2 separate regions of the Homo sapiens genome follow, and region 1 is linked to region 2. The links are contacts of gene promoters, found by promoter capture Hi-C in human tissues and cell types (Jung and others, 2019). All regions are on one chromosome and are shown on one strand. Each heading gives the region's core, a stretch centred on a gene start or on the middle of the fragment in contact. The rest is flanking DNA. Distances are from core to core; before and after follow the strand shown. Region 1 overlaps KCNH8 (potassium voltage-gated channel subfamily H member 8). Region 2 holds the start of KCNH8 (potassium voltage-gated channel subfamily H member 8).

The links. The method cuts DNA at HindIII sites, captures the fragments that hold promoters and counts their contacts. A contact is called where the count stands out against the background at its distance.
Region 1: a contact is called between a fragment that was not itself captured here and the fragment with the promoter of KCNH8 in region 2, in 2 of the 25 tissues and cell types used here (H1 embryonic stem cells and dorsolateral prefrontal cortex).

The regions. Positions count from the first base shown.
Region 1 is chr3:19,276,372-19,284,177 of GRCh38, forward strand. KCNH8 (potassium voltage-gated channel subfamily H member 8) reads left to right here. Exons shown (of 16, transcript NM_144633.3): 3 at 4,827-4,958. Among named protein-coding and RNA genes, the nearest start is that of MIR4791, 35 kb to the right of the region's middle. The HindIII fragment of the contact is 3,819 bases long and covers 285-4,103 here.
Region 2 is chr3:19,143,360-19,150,825 of GRCh38, forward strand. KCNH8 (potassium voltage-gated channel subfamily H member 8) reads left to right here and starts at 5,151. Exons shown (of 16, transcript NM_144633.3): 1 at 5,151-5,436. The coding sequence starts at 5,361. RefSeq lists enhancers at 3,406-3,999, 4,000-4,593 and a silencer at 3,541-3,712. The HindIII fragment of the contact is 8,005 bases long and covers 1-7,466 here.

The DNA.
Region 1 (7,806 bases), core at 944-3,443, 130 kb after region 2:
ATGCTCTTAACCCTTGGGATATTATGTTATTGTTGCTATAATTTCAAAAAGTAAAGATGTTATGTATTTATCATTAAAAATTTATTCAAAATCCTGCTTGATATTAGAAACAAGAGAACATCAAATGTGTCCATATCTCACTTTGACCTATTGTGTTATATTGAGCAATGCACTATTTCCCATCATGACAGCACAGTCATTAAAGAGAGTGGGACCACTCACAACTCAGTTTTCCTTATACCTGCACCTCCTTGTATTAAGTTATTAAACCATGAACCCATACTAGAAACATTATTATTAGTTAGCTATTATGAGTTTTTATCTATTGACAAATATATTTTAGTGCTGTCTGGAAAGCATATGAGTTCTCTAATAATTATAAATATTAGCAAAAATTAGTACAGCTACTATGAAGAAAAGTATGGAATGGTCTTCAAAAACCCACAGATAAAACTTCCATATAATCCAGCAATTCCATTACCATGTATATATCCCAAAGAAAGGAAATCAATATATTAAAGAGATATCTGCATTCCTGTATTTATTGCAGCACTATTCACAATATCCAAGTTATGGAATCAACCTAAGTGCCCATCAAGGTATGGATAAAGTGTGATATATATACATAATGGAATATTATTTGGCCATAAAAAATGAAGTTCTGTCATTTGCAGAAGAAACATTGATAGAACTGGAGGCCCTTATGTTGAGTGACAGAAGTCAAGCACAGAAAGACAAATATTGCATGTTCTCATTCATATTTGAGAGCTAAAAAAGTGGCTCTTATGAAGATAGAGGGTAGACTGTTGGTTACCCTAGACTAGGAAGGGGAGGCAGGGGGATGAAGGGAAAAATATCTATAAAGATATTTATTACCACTGAACTGTATATTTAAAAATGGTAAAGATGGGCTGTGCATGGTGGCTTATGCCTGTAATTCAAGTGCTTTGAGAGGCCAAGGTGGCAGGATCCCTTGAACACCGGAGTTTGAGACCAGCGTGGGAAACATAGGGAGATCCCCATCTCTACAGAAAAATTTAAAACTAGCCAGGCGTGGTGGTGCACGTCTGTAGTCCTAGCTACTTGGGAGGCTGAGGTGGCAGGATTGTTTGACTCTAAAGTAGGCTGTGATCATGCCACTGCACTCCTACCTGTGTGATAGAGTAAGACTTTCTCTTAAAAAACAAAAAGGCACAGGTGGTAAACTATGTATGTATGTTTTACCTCAATAAAAAGAAATACACAAAAATATTAGCAAGTCAAATTATCCTGCATCCTTGTTTCCCAATCAAGAAAAAGAAAGTACCAAAATGGAGACAAGGGACATTCCACCAGATTTAAGCTTTTGTGTAACTATTCAATTCCAAAAATAGATTTTTCCATATAAGGTAAAAACCTTGTTTTCTCTCCACAATTGTATTTATCCATAGAAATTAAAGGTGTCATTAACCTAAATCCTGTCAGAGCCTCATCTGTGTTGACACTCTCCAACCCACATGGTAATTACTGCTGCTATATAAAGAAGGAGTTAAAATTCTCATGAAATGTCTGCCCTCTGACTCTGCTCTTATCATTCACATCTCTGAATTTGAGGCTGTGGGACTTGCAGCCTCCCACCTTAACCCTAAGAGAGATTTGTTGCACTGGGCCTGAATTGCTCTTGACTGAAAGAGTTGATCATTGTGCCCACAGGTAAGAGAGGAAGAGCCAGATCCTGGAGAATAGTCTTGAATTATTGCATTCATAAGAGGTGAAAGGTGTCATTAGAAATGCAGGGTGGAGGGCTTGCTGGAAAGATTTAGGAAAGCAGAGAAGCAAAGGATAAGCGAGCATGCTAAGTATAAAGAGTCTTGCATTGAACATGATTGGTAGCTTTTGGCATCTATTATCTTTCTAGAAGATAATGCAGTTGGTATATGCTTTGTGTTCTTCTAAAATTGAGAAAGAAAAGCATAAATATACCTGAATATTCGTAAGATTATTGGTGTGGATAAATCTGGAGGGACAGTTGAAAGGAAAAAAGGAAGGAGGGAGGGAAGGAGGGAGGGAAGGAGGGAGAGATGGAGGGAGAAAGGCAGGCAGGAAGGAAGGAAAGGGAAGGGAAGGAAGGAAGGAGGGAAATGAGGAAGGGAGGGAGGGAGGGAAGGAACAAAGGAAGGAGGGAAATAAGGGAGGAAGGGAGGGAGGGAGGGAGGAGGAAGGGAGGGAGGGAAGGAAGGAAATAGTTTTTATGCCCTTTACACTGTTTCTCTCATAAACTTTTTTGTCATATAGGCACTAGGAAGGTAGACATCAGCCTAGTTCATGTAAAATCATTCCAAAGCTTGAATTTAGAAAGATCCAAAGTAATGAAGTTTTATTGAATTTATAAAATGTTAGTGATCACATCACTGTAACTTAAAAGACAAATCTCAAAGTAAACTTTCAGTTATTCCAGAATATAATGTGAAATGATGGCTGTGCCTCAAGGGCTGATCAGTGAATATTGCCATATCAACAGCTGTTTCCTTGGTTTTCACCTCATGTGGTTTTGGCTCTTTCCAAAATATATTGGTGCACCTATGCAAAGGCTCTTTGGAGACAGTAATGATACTTGTCTGAGTACACAGATAGAAGATTTTCAGGAAAATTAATAGCCTCGGTTATGATTTGGTGATGTTCTTGCAAGGTAATTGACAGAGAGGTGCTTTAAAATGTCAACCAAAATGTCAGATTTCATACCGTTCTTTGTGTCCCCACTATTACTTTCTCTAAGGTCTGATTATTAGTTTAGCCTGATGGCTCTTTTTGTTTCTATCATAGCTACAGCATTGAAAAAGGCTCCCAGTCTGAAATGGTGACCATAGATAAAATTTCAATTAAGAACCATTCTGGGATGACGAGGATAGCAGTGTTTGGCTATGGGTATGGCTCATTTATGAGGCTTCTCCATGAATCACAAACACTTGAGTTGATTTATTGTCTCAGCATTTTTGGGGTCACTGTATTCACTACTGGAGTGAAGGATGTGACAATGTTACAATGAAGGGAACCAAGTTCCAGATGGGTTAATCGACTTCCCTATCGTTTCATGGCTAGTTAGTATTAGAACCATGGTTAGATCCCAGGTCTTCTAGAGCCTGGTAATGAGCTATTGAAATGAGATTGCCATGGCATAGATATTGGGGCAGATGAATGAAATGGGATGCCATAGGGCTAAAAAAAAAAAAAAAATAAGGAGGAAATCATGACTCTAAAACTATTGGGAGAATACAGAGGAACGAGCATATTTTATATTCCATGTGTAACTTATGAGAGCAGCACATCATACATCATCCAACCATTCTTTTAAACAAATACAGCAGCAGCTACGATAAAATAAGACTTTTATATCAGATGGCTCCTAAATATAAATTAGTGGCTTCACCTGGTGTTTAACTGCAGAAAAAAATGATAGATCCCAAGGCTGGATGAATACATAGCTGTGTTGGAAATTATGAGGTCTAATACAGTGTATGCAAGACAACTCAAAATATCAGGGATATTTCTGACCCTCATATTTTTGTCTTATACCCTGACTTTGAAATCAACACCCAAATAAGACAAGAATTCACAGTATTGAAGTCTTTTTCCCCTCATCAAAAGAAAATGAAGGAAAATTATGTATGAATAGATTAATAGTTTAGTTTTTAAGCAACAACAACTTTATCATCATTTTCAAATATTCCTGTCCAGAATGCCTTTCAGTAGGAAATACAGTGCAAGATTTTTTTACATATTTCTAAAATACATATTTTAAAATATATTTAAACATTGAAAATATAAGCTTTAGGCAGTACCATTTGGCTACTATATTTTGAATTTGAATCTTAATGACATTTCTCATGGTTTTTTGCTCAAAAATTGAATGGAATTTGATTATTTCTTCTTCAAATATTTTTTGAAATGTGACATGCTTACTGAAAAATACATGTAAGCATTTAAGAACTGAACACTCCTATGTAAACAGCATAAAGATCATGTAACAAAACTTGACCAGCATCCTACAACTCCCAGACCTGAATGCCTTTCTAATCACAATTTCCCCAAAGTAACCGTTAACCTGACTTTTAACATCATAGATTAGTTCTGCCTGTTTTTGTATTTAATGTAAACAAATTCTTATTGCATTCTATTTGTGTTTACGTATTTTACTTACATTATATTAGTGATATTCATCTATTTGGTTTCAAATGATTGTAAGTCACTCATTCACGCTGATGTATAATGTTGTATTGTGAAACTAAATTTTAATACTACCTGTGTTTAAAGTAGATGTATTAATTTGAATCAGCCAGCAATGTATGAGAGTTTAAGTGGCTGTGCACGCTCCCCAAAACTTGATACTTTTCACCTTTTTTATTTTAGCATTCTGTTGGGCAAGCTTTGATTTTTAAATTGACTAAATAAACCTCTGGCAAACTCATACCAAACAAAGGTCTTTATTGAAGAACGAGTGTGTGCTGGGGGTGGGAAGGGGCAATCTCTCATAAAGTGGAATGCTTCAGCATCAACGAGTTCAAAGAGGAAATGCAGTTTGAATAATGTAAGCAGAAATGTCTCAGCACAGACAAGTGTTTTTGTTTAAAATACTTCTTTATTTTCAGAAAAAGCATTTCCTTTGGAATGAAGAGAGATGTATATAGGATAGAAATTTATGGAACCTGAAAACTGACATTTTTAAGATGGAGGGAGTTGTGGGATTGAAGAAAACACTAAGGGCTTTATTTTTTATTGATGATTGAGATTTCCATAGAGATAACACAAGGCAATGGTTGATTTGTATTTTTTTTTCTTTACTGTTGCAGGGTCTCCATTTTGGTGCCTACTGGATATTGTTCCCATAAAGAATGAAAAAGGAGATGTAGTACTTTTTCTGGCCTCGTTCAAAGATATAACAGATACAAAAGTGAAGATTACTCCAGAAGATAAAAAAGAAGGTTTGTACCGTTTTCAGAAAACATTGACAGATGGAGTAACATTTTGAAATTGTTTACTTAAAAACTCTTGGAGAAAAACATGCATTTTTAATAACAGCAACTGATAAATATTCGTAACTGTTAGCAGTCAGCATTTGGTGCATATTCCAAATCACAGACTCACATGCATTTACATTCTATCGTCTTTATAATAAAGACACACTTGACAGGAACTAGAAGTTCATATTCCTATGCTAATATGAGGAGGATGAGAAAACAGTTTATCACAATGTAAGGATTAACACCACTTCATTGTATTAGGCAAAAATTAATGGATGGGATAAGTGTCTTTAGGAGGATGTGATTTAAAATACATCTCTCCATTTCCTCTAGATTGCTGTAGCTCAAAACTTAGATGTGCGAAGTGTAGTTATGTACAAAGTTAAGAACTCTAGCTTAGTGGTTGTTAGAATAGAATGTTGCAAACAAATGTGAATCCTGTACCTTATTGTATATAAGAATATAATACTTGGTTTTAAGACATAAACAAGCTTTTCAGTTATCTTTAAAGGAGTCTGAGAATTTGTGTTGTTTACCTTGTATCTTCTGGTTATAATTTATTAAGAAATTCTTTGCATTTTGTATAAGCTGACAAAAGTTAACACTGAAAAACTGCTGATATTATTTGTTTTAAACCAAAGTAGGATTCTAGTCACCAGAGAAAAAGCAATTATCCTTTGTGGATTTCTATGTAGTAAGTTCTTTTTTAGAATCAGCTACTTGACATTTCAACAGCTATGTCTTTTTAGGAATGGACTCTTTTATTCCAGCTCTTTTTTAAAATGTGTGTGATTGTTTTCAATACATTATGTTTCTTGAAATGACAACCCAAATGAACAGATATGATAGTTTGGTGCTCTCACTTCTAGCATTTGAAAGCCTTGCAAATGCATGTCTGTTTTGCTGTATATTGGCATGACTAAATTATGTAGTGTATTTTACATATGCAAGGGAAGAGCCATATTAAAATTAAAGTTGCTTGAATTTTAGAGCAAGCATAGTACCTGTCCAATGTAAGTTCCACAAAGATAAGTATGAAAATTGGTGTGTATAGTTTTTGCTTTTAATATTTTCTTTGTAAGATAGAAACACAAAAGGTAAGGATCCTTTGAATAAAATTATTCAAACATGTAAGTATATATTCATATTATGTACATTCACAAATATGTGTGGATAAATAGAAATATAACACAATCCTTAGAAAGAAATACATGACTTTTTTTTGCTTGAAAGAAGGCAGTTTGATTAACCTTTAACTGACTTGTTTGGAATATGAGGACCATGCCTAATGGTTTTATACAAATTCCTTAATTATCTTTGTCTCATGTTCCTTATGTCTCGTGTTAGGGGAGAAATCCCCATCTTGGTGGACTGCAGTGAATAACAGCGGTGAAGTATACCTTTTCATTTAGAGTTTGAGAGAGCTCAATAAAAATACTCATTTTTGCCATCCACGTTCTGAATCAGCTGAAAAAGAAAAATGAGTAGATTGGAGACCAAAATATCACCTTTATTTTTGATGAAACTAATAAAGGAAAACATGAAATATGTCTACCTCCAAGTGGGCTTCCTTCTAGTGAGCTCTAGTTTTAGGCAAAGTTGCCCCTCAGTCACAAAGCAGAGCCTCTCACTGTGTAACTTAATGTCTGGAGAACCAGAGCAGAACAGTTGCTCCCTAAAGAGAGAGAAGACAAAGGGGTCATCCTATACATGTCCATATCACCTTCCAAACTTAATCAAATTATATTCTTCTTCTTTTCCCGGAAATAGCTAAGTTAAGGAGCAGAGAGAGGCTAGCATGTCGCACTAGTAGAGCTGCTGGCACTTGAAAGATTACACCTGTCATTTGGAAGTGAAGGACATCAATTTGAACACTGTGCAACCAATAACAAAGTAATCCAAAATTCTATCTTAAAATGGTGTTAACATTTGTATTCCAATACATGTATTAAATTGTGCTCAATAATATTTTCATTTTGCTTAGGGAACATGTACAATGTAAAGACTATCTCTTGCAAGATTTAAATAAAAAATATCAACAAAACACTTTTAACATTAATTATATTGTGCAAAATATGATTTAATTTTTTGAAATATTTGCTAGTAAGTCCCTAGATATATTTATCTCAACATTATCTCATATAAAAATATTACTTCTAATATATACTGAACACTCAAGAACAGTTTTTTCTATTGCTACCTTATTATAAATGTCCCATAGAAGTATGTAGTATTTTTAGAAAGACAGAGTAACTGTTGTAAGTCACTATGGTTATAAAATGATAATTAAAAATAGCCAACAATCTAGGAGGCCAAGGCAGGAGAACTGCTTGAGCCCAGAGTTTGATACCAACTCGAGCAACATAGGGAGACTCTGTCTTTACCAAAAAAAATATAATAATAAAATAAAAAATAAATTAAAAATTAGCCAGGTCATGGTGGTGCGCACTTGTAGTCCCAGCTATTTGGGAGGCTGAGGTGAGAGGATCACTTCAGCCCAGGAGGTGAATGCTGCAGTGACTGGTGATTCACTCCTGCACTCTAGCCTGGGTGACAGAGTGAGACCCTGTCTCAAAAAAAAAAAAGAAATAAAGAAAAAGAAAAAAAAATATTTTTACCTGCCCTTAATGGAGAAAAACACCTTAAAATTTACCAATTGATGGCATGTCTTGCAGGAAAGACACACCTTAACATATGATATTTTTAAAGCTTCCAAATAAGTGTTTGATTATTAAAATGTCACCATGTAACTGTAGCAGTATTATGTCATAACATTAAAAAAAACTAAATGAGTGCATGACATGACCCA
Region 2 (7,466 bases), core at 3,901-6,400:
CGGCTGACATGGACAGTGTGGCAGATTTGAAGATTTGGCAGCTGAAGACTGTCATCAGCAACACTTTTCCCACCAGGTTCTCTTGACATGAGATCCAAACAGTGCACCTCTATTGCTACTAAATGTCAGTTCTTGAATATTCCAGAGTTCCTTTTCTTTGAGGGCAAGGGTTGGATTGTATTTTACCACCTCTTTAAAATTAGGATGGCCATATGACTTATTTTGGTCATTAAGTTGTAAGTGGAAGTTTGAAAAAACAGTATATGCTTTGCCGGATTATCTTTTTCTCTTCAAAGAAAATACCTTTTGAGCAGAACTTCCATCAATCTGGGCCCCAATAATGAGCAGGCTCTTACCAACTCAGGTGGGACATGTAGACTGAGCAAGAAATAGCATTATTGTAATAAGCCATTGAGATATTATGTTTTTTATTGAGGCATAACCTAGATTACTCTGACTGAAACCATAGCTTTGGAGATTGTGCTGGAGTATTTTAGTTTCTACATACACTGAGAAATAGGCAGTGACCATTGGGGAACAGGAGGCAGTGAACACTGGGGAAGAGGAGGCAGTGAACATACCACTGGAATCCAGCTTGGTTGGATATAAGAGCACAACAATTTGAAAGCGTTAGTCAAAGAAATGAACTGCTTGATTTTCCTTCTGAGCTTCTAAAGTCATTTATATTTAGAAGGAAAAGCTCACCAGTCATAGGTTGTAACAAATTATTAATACATAAATGTGTTCTGAGCTAACAGGACCATAAACTGTCATAGTTGGTCAACAATATTTATTGTGGATAAACAACTTGTATTAGATATGTTAGAACATAAAAAAGAGAACAATGATTATTATCATCCCTTTTATTGTATGCCACATATTATGAGATTCAAAGGCTTTCATAAATATTTTCTTCTACTCAGTGGAGTAAGTAGGGAAAGTATTATTATCCCAGTTTTACAGTTAAGGAAATGGAAACCCACAAACTTTAAATGACAAAGGGGATAAGTGGTTGAAACAAAACTAGAACTCAATACATCTGAGTAGATGCCTGTAAATTAAAATATTGCCTTCTTGCGAAGGCTAAAATTCTTGTTGCCAGAAAAAGTTTAAGAATATTTTCAGTGCCTACAGTCAAATACATATGCATCAATAAGGCATTTGCAGCTATTTTGTGTCATGGTATTGGATGAATGCTATAATTAGAAAACAGACGTGAAGCCGACCTAAAACCATCAAACTAATATAGAGAGCCCTGAAGCTTTTTCCAGTTCCAGTCAGTCTGAAAAGACAACATCAAATGCTAATGAGAGTCAGTCTTAAATAAAATAAGAATAAAAATTGCTTTATCTGTGGCTTATAACTCTTAAGTGAATTTAATGTGTATTTTCTCTCTTGTGTGTTACATTTTCCCTATAAGGAATTATAGAGTTGAACCCAGATCTTGTACCCATAAATCTCAAATGCTTATGGAGACATAAAGAATAGGTAAAAATGGATTTTTAATCACATTAAGGAATGCTGTTATGAGGCAACTTCCTTTGAAACTCAAAATACTAACAAATTGATAGGAAGATTTTAAAACATGGCTCCATTTTATTTGATACTTGTTCCATCTAAAGGTTGGACTTTTCCCCCTTTCTGATTAACCTGGATTCTGTGCTTGCTTTCAATCTGGCCGTTTCTAGATCAGGCCTTAAGAAACTGGCAGTTCCTACTTCCTGTCTCTTCAGACACTCTGGAAACCACCATGCTGTGAGGAAGCCCAAGTAGTTCCTGGAGAGATCTACACCAATAACTGAAGCCCCAAGGCCCTAGCACTGGCTGAGCTCCCAGCTGAAAGCCAGCACCAAATTTCCATAACTTTGAGTGAACCATCTTGGAAGTGTATATTCCAGTTCCAGGTTAAGTGTACTCAGAAATAACCTGCCCCATTGATCCCTGTAAAAATTGGAGATCTGAAAGCAAAATACAATATTGTTGACATTTTAAGTCAGTAGGGTTTGGGGCAGTTTATTGTATCAGTGAACTTTGCCTAGGTTGGTTTTACCTAGAGGCCTTCTATAGTACATAATAGAGTACCTTGGTCTGGTTATAGGGATTTTGTGCCTTCCTTTACATTTTAAAGTGAAAGAAAAATATCTTTTCTGTGAACATGAATTTTTTATTATTATTGTTATACTTTTAAGTTCTAGGGTACATGTGCACAATGTGCAGGTTTGTTACATTGGTATACATGTGCCATGTTTGTTTGCTGCATCCATCAACTCGTCATTTACATTAGGTATTTCTCCTAATGCTATCCCTCCCCCAGCTCCCCAGCCCCCAACAGGCCCGGGTGTGTGATGTTCCCCTCCCTGTGTCCATGTGTTGTCATGAACATCAATATTTTTAATGAGGGCATTAAGTTTACTCTATTGTGTGGTTATCCTGTATTCTTGTAGCATTGTCTCGTTTAGTCCGTAGAGAAAGATCACATCCCTGTAGTGTGTGATCTACTATAAAATGAGTTGGGGTTTTTTGTGTCAATAAAATGAGTTGCAACAAAATGAGTTGGGTTTTTTTGTGTCAATAAGTGGGGACAGTGGGAAAATTTCCTTAAGGAAAGCACATGAGATTTGGTGATTTGGGGCAGATGATAGTGAAAACTCCAGACTCCCATGGTGCTTCTTTCACGGTCTTTGCTTTCCAGGTGGCAAAACATGTTTAAAGGGATTTAATATACTTAAACTTGGATGGAGGTCATGTTCTAATGGCACAATTTGGCCTCACTGATGCCACAAACCCTTAGGATGAACATTAGGTTTCGGGCTAGAACTTAAAAAGGGCCTGGAACTCAAGACCAGAGTGGTGATGGCTGTCTTCATTAAGAAACACTTCTTGGTGGGCAAAGGATATAAGAGATAGTTAGGTCCATCTACTGCAGTTCAGTAGAATACAGGGCTTGAATTTGAATTTAGGGCAGGGATCTTGCCATGCCTAGCACAGTTCCTGACACATAATAGGTGTTGGAGGGGAGACAGTGAATGATAAATGCCAGGCTCCTTTTGCCATGAAACTGGGGCTTTCTTTTGGGTTGTCATTTTTAAGCCACTATGTGGCTTGCTTCTTGCAGTGATTTCATATATTAGGTAACAGATCAGGACCACGAGGAAACAATTTTTACACACACGGCCCTACAGTGCAAATTGTTATGAACCACAGTCATAGCTTACAACTAATACATTTCATCCTGAACTTCGAGCCAATTCACGGGTGGCGTTTATCTCCGTTTTACATCGGCAGCAACAGCCTGAATTTTCTGGGACACGATGCGCCACCCAAACAACAGGGACTCCCTCATCTTTTTCTCCCCAGCTCCGCCCAAGACTGAGCCACATAGCCACCTGCAGTTGCGATCGGCTCGCCGCGTGGGGGACTCCACCCGCGTGAGCTCGGTTTCCGAAAAGCGAAGCTGGGGTGGGACACAAGGATTGAGGGGAGGACAGGGACGGACCTGCGGCAGAAGCAGGGTGCAGCTGGGCGAGGAACCCCACGTTGGTAGCTTCTCTTCTGGGATGGCCGCCCCGCGCCGCCCACTCCGGAATCCTGTCCCCTCCCCGGCGCGCCCCCGCCCAGCTAGCCTAGAGCCTCTGCCGGATCTTCTCGAATTTCAACACAAAGGGAATCCTCGGCCGCAGGAAGTGCATCACGAGAAAGGGGGCCTGGGGGCGGGGAGAGGGGGATGCCGCTTCTCTCTCTTCTCCCCCTCCCTCCCGGAGCCCAAGGCAGACGTGACGAAACCCGCGGGGTCCCCCCCGAAGCCCCAACAGCCGAGATAATTGAAACAAGAAACCCCCTTAGTAAGGGGGCGGGGGGTGGGCCCTCCCTCCCTCCTCCCGCCACGCCCGAGTTCCTGGAGATCAGAGCTGCCTCGCCGCGGCTCTGACACCTGTTTGCTTTTTCCCTCCTTTCCTTCCGGGTGCACTAGCACCTGGGCTTACGTTTGTTTTTCTACCCTGGGGCTCTCAACTTCCCTTCCACACTCCACCTCCCTTGCAGAGTTTTCTATAAAGTTCGGGCTCTGGGTGTCCCCTTGCACTCCCCACAGGGCTGTGCCGCAGGCTTGGGCGACTTTCCCCGCAGAACGTTGGCCGAGAGGGAGTCCCCGCGGGGGGGGCCAGGGGGGAGGACTGGGAGAGACCACTTTCGTTTTCTGAGACGCCTTCAGTTCCTGGCCGTCCGCCAGGCTTTCTTCTTGGAGGTGTCAGTCTTCGGGAGTGGGGGCTGGGGAAAGGGGGGCAGGCTAGGGGATTTGTGTTTGAAGCTATTTTTGGAAGGCAGCCTTACTGTTTTTACTTACGTGGTATTTTGCAAATTAATAAAAATAGCAAACTTTTCTAGAAATGCTTTATTCACATTTTACCGGAGAATGGGAAACCATCCATTGTCCGTTCAAAAGGCTATTTTTTTAAAGTTTGGGATGGCTTGGGGAGGCCAATGGCAATTTGGGGAGAAGGGCTGAAGCACCCCTTTTTGGAGCTCGGGGCCAGTTTCCCGGACTAAAAGACCCTGGTGACTGGGGATGGGCCTCACAACTAACTCGGGCTGCCCTGCCCCTGTCGCGTGGGCTCGCAATGGCAAGTGCTCCGGAAGGGGGCCGCCTCCCCGTGGGGCTCCTGGCTGCCTCTGCTCCCTTGGACACCACTGGGGGGCCTCCCCCTCCTAAGTTCTAGGTTGAGGCCGGATACCTGCCCCGACCTGTCTCCTCCCTTTCTCCAATACCACACCCACGGGACTCCAGTCTCCCCGGGAGTGGGACGGAGAGGGAACAAAGGGGTCTTTGTTCACTGGCTCCCGGGGCGTGGGAGTTGCGCTCGCTCTCCTTTCCCGGCGTCCCGTGGAGACCGGGAGGCTCAGCGCCTCTCCCAGCTCTCAGCGCCGCCCTCCCAGACCCCAGAGACGTCGGTCAGGGCGCGGCGCCCCGGGCCACTGCGGGCTCTTTCCGGGCGGGCGACGTGGGGGGCGAGGCACCGCGCGGCGGCGCCTGGCGGGCACTGTTGCCCGCGGAGGGACGGTGGGGGGGTTTCAGCAGCTGGCGGGGGTGGAGGGGGCGGGAGAGGGAGCCTGCGCCGGGCTGAGCCTGGAGGTGCGGGGCGGGCTCGGGGAGCGCTCTTGGGGCTCCTCCTGCCACAGCCGGGGCGGCTGGAACTCTCTCCCTTTCTCCCTCCATCCTTCCACTTCCCCTGCTCGGCCCCGCCGTCAGGCCGGGTCCCCCTTCCCTGCCGTCATCAGGTTCCCCTTCTCCCTTCTTGGCACTTTCCTTTCGAACCATCCTTCTGGACAAACTTTGATGGAGAATTTCACACCACGCTGGAAAAATGCCGGTTATGAAAGGATTACTGGCGCCGCAAAACACCTTCCTGGACACCATCGCCACCCGTTTTGACGGAACACGTAAGTCTTACACTTGAACGAGTGGTATGGCATTTTCTGAGACTGATTTTTCTCGTACACATTACTTTTGCTCCCACCTTCCCTTTTGCACCAGCGGAGTGAATTTTCTTCTGTTCTTGCCAAGGTATCTTTTGTGCGGAGAAATTTGTTCCCTCATGGTTTGGTGTAGTATTAACACTTTGTATTGGTGTAATAGTTGGCTCTCTTGAGTTCTTGGGTTTGTTAAGGACTGAAACGCAGCCTGAGGAAAGACCGACGCCCGTATTCACTGTGGGACCTGCATTTTGGTGTATCTTTAGGGAATTGGTTGTAATTTTCTGAGGTGAAAAGGGGAATATCGGTGTACCTAATCTTTCTAGAGTTTCAAGGCTCCCTAGATCAAAAGGAGAGCTTGGAGTGTTCTTTCTTGGAGCTTCATTCCGTGATATATTTCGGATAGGTATGATTTTCTATCTGAGTTTAAGAAATGCAGGATTGCCAAGTGTAAGCTTTCTGTAGAATTTTAAGTGTTGTGAGTTTGTCAGAACCTTGATTCCTGCTTTTGAGCTAGAATAGCGTATCTTTTAATCCTTAAATGAGCCTAACACTCAAGCAGAGGCTGTTCAGGAAGAAGGACATGAATAAAGACGATTTGATGATAAGAGAAAGTTTTTAGTTTTTTTTTTTTGAGTACGAATATTATTGGACATTTAGCTCATTTAAGCTACAGTAGGAAAAAAAATAGATAGGATGTTGTGTGGTTGCTAGCAGACGGTTCGTTATCATCTGCAAGTTGTTCTCTTTCAGGACCACGGTCAGGTCCCCACTCCTTCTCAGGCTTTTCAAGCTCTCTACTTGACCCTGTGGATCTTCCTAGCTGGCTTTAACCCTGTAATTAGGAGTCTGTACTACCACCCCTAACAAATGCTCTCAGTTGGTTTCACTACGAATATCCTCATCTTCTTTCTAGCTTATCTTGCTTCTGTGCACTGTCTTCCATTTTTCTGTTGAGACTCAGAGAAACTCATTTATCCTAAAGTCCTTCTTAGTGGTTCAAGTGTCATTGCTTTTACTCTGTATATTTCTTGGAGCTGATATGGGAGAGCAATACTAATTTCATTTCCACTCCAGTAGTCTAAATACACAGTCTTATCTTTGGGTGGGAAGCAAGTCTTGGACTTATGCTTCAGGGATAGTTGGAAAAGTTTACATGAGAAAGAAATGAATCACTTTAATTTTGTTCAGTTTTTATTTTTGACATCTAGTCTAATCATGGTAGTTGGTGTGGATATTTGGTCACTTCATAAGTGTTTTTATCTTTACATCTAGCCATTCTTTTCCCTTTTATATTCTAAATGTGTTAGATGTTATGTATGAGGTGTAATGTTATTACGTATGTCTTTTTTAGATAATAATGATAAATATTATAGGAAAACTTCAAGTCCCTGCCATTGCCACTACCACACCACTGAAGCGCCACACAAAATCACCACTGCTGTGTTTTACCATGCATGATGGCGGATACTACTATTTTACTATTCATTACCTGAGGTACTGATCAGTTTAATGTGGATGTTTTTTTTTTTGAAGTTGAACATCCAAAACTAAAAGGCTGTAAACATTGATCCTGAATTTGTCTATTGAAAATGAGGTAATTGGCAAATGGTAATTGTTTATCTCATTGCCATTTAAAGTTGAATGAAGTGTAATGTGTAGTGAATCATCCCAGCACAGCCTTGGGAATTACTGCAGTGATACATTCAGATATCAATTGCTAATGAGAGGGGCTTTAAATCATCAGCGTGGAAATATCTTGGCCTCTGACTCTGACTATAGTGATATGCATGATAAGCAGGAGGGCATGTAGGGAGAGATGGATGTACTTGTGAATAGTTCTTTTTCTATGTTGGCTACACATTAATGTTAATAAGATAGGTTAGATACTTTAAATCCTTATTTTTAAAGAAGACCATCCTGACATACCTGTATTTAGTATAGTAAGAAATCAAAAAGTCTTTTGGAGACCATGCTTGGTCTGTGCTCCACAGCAT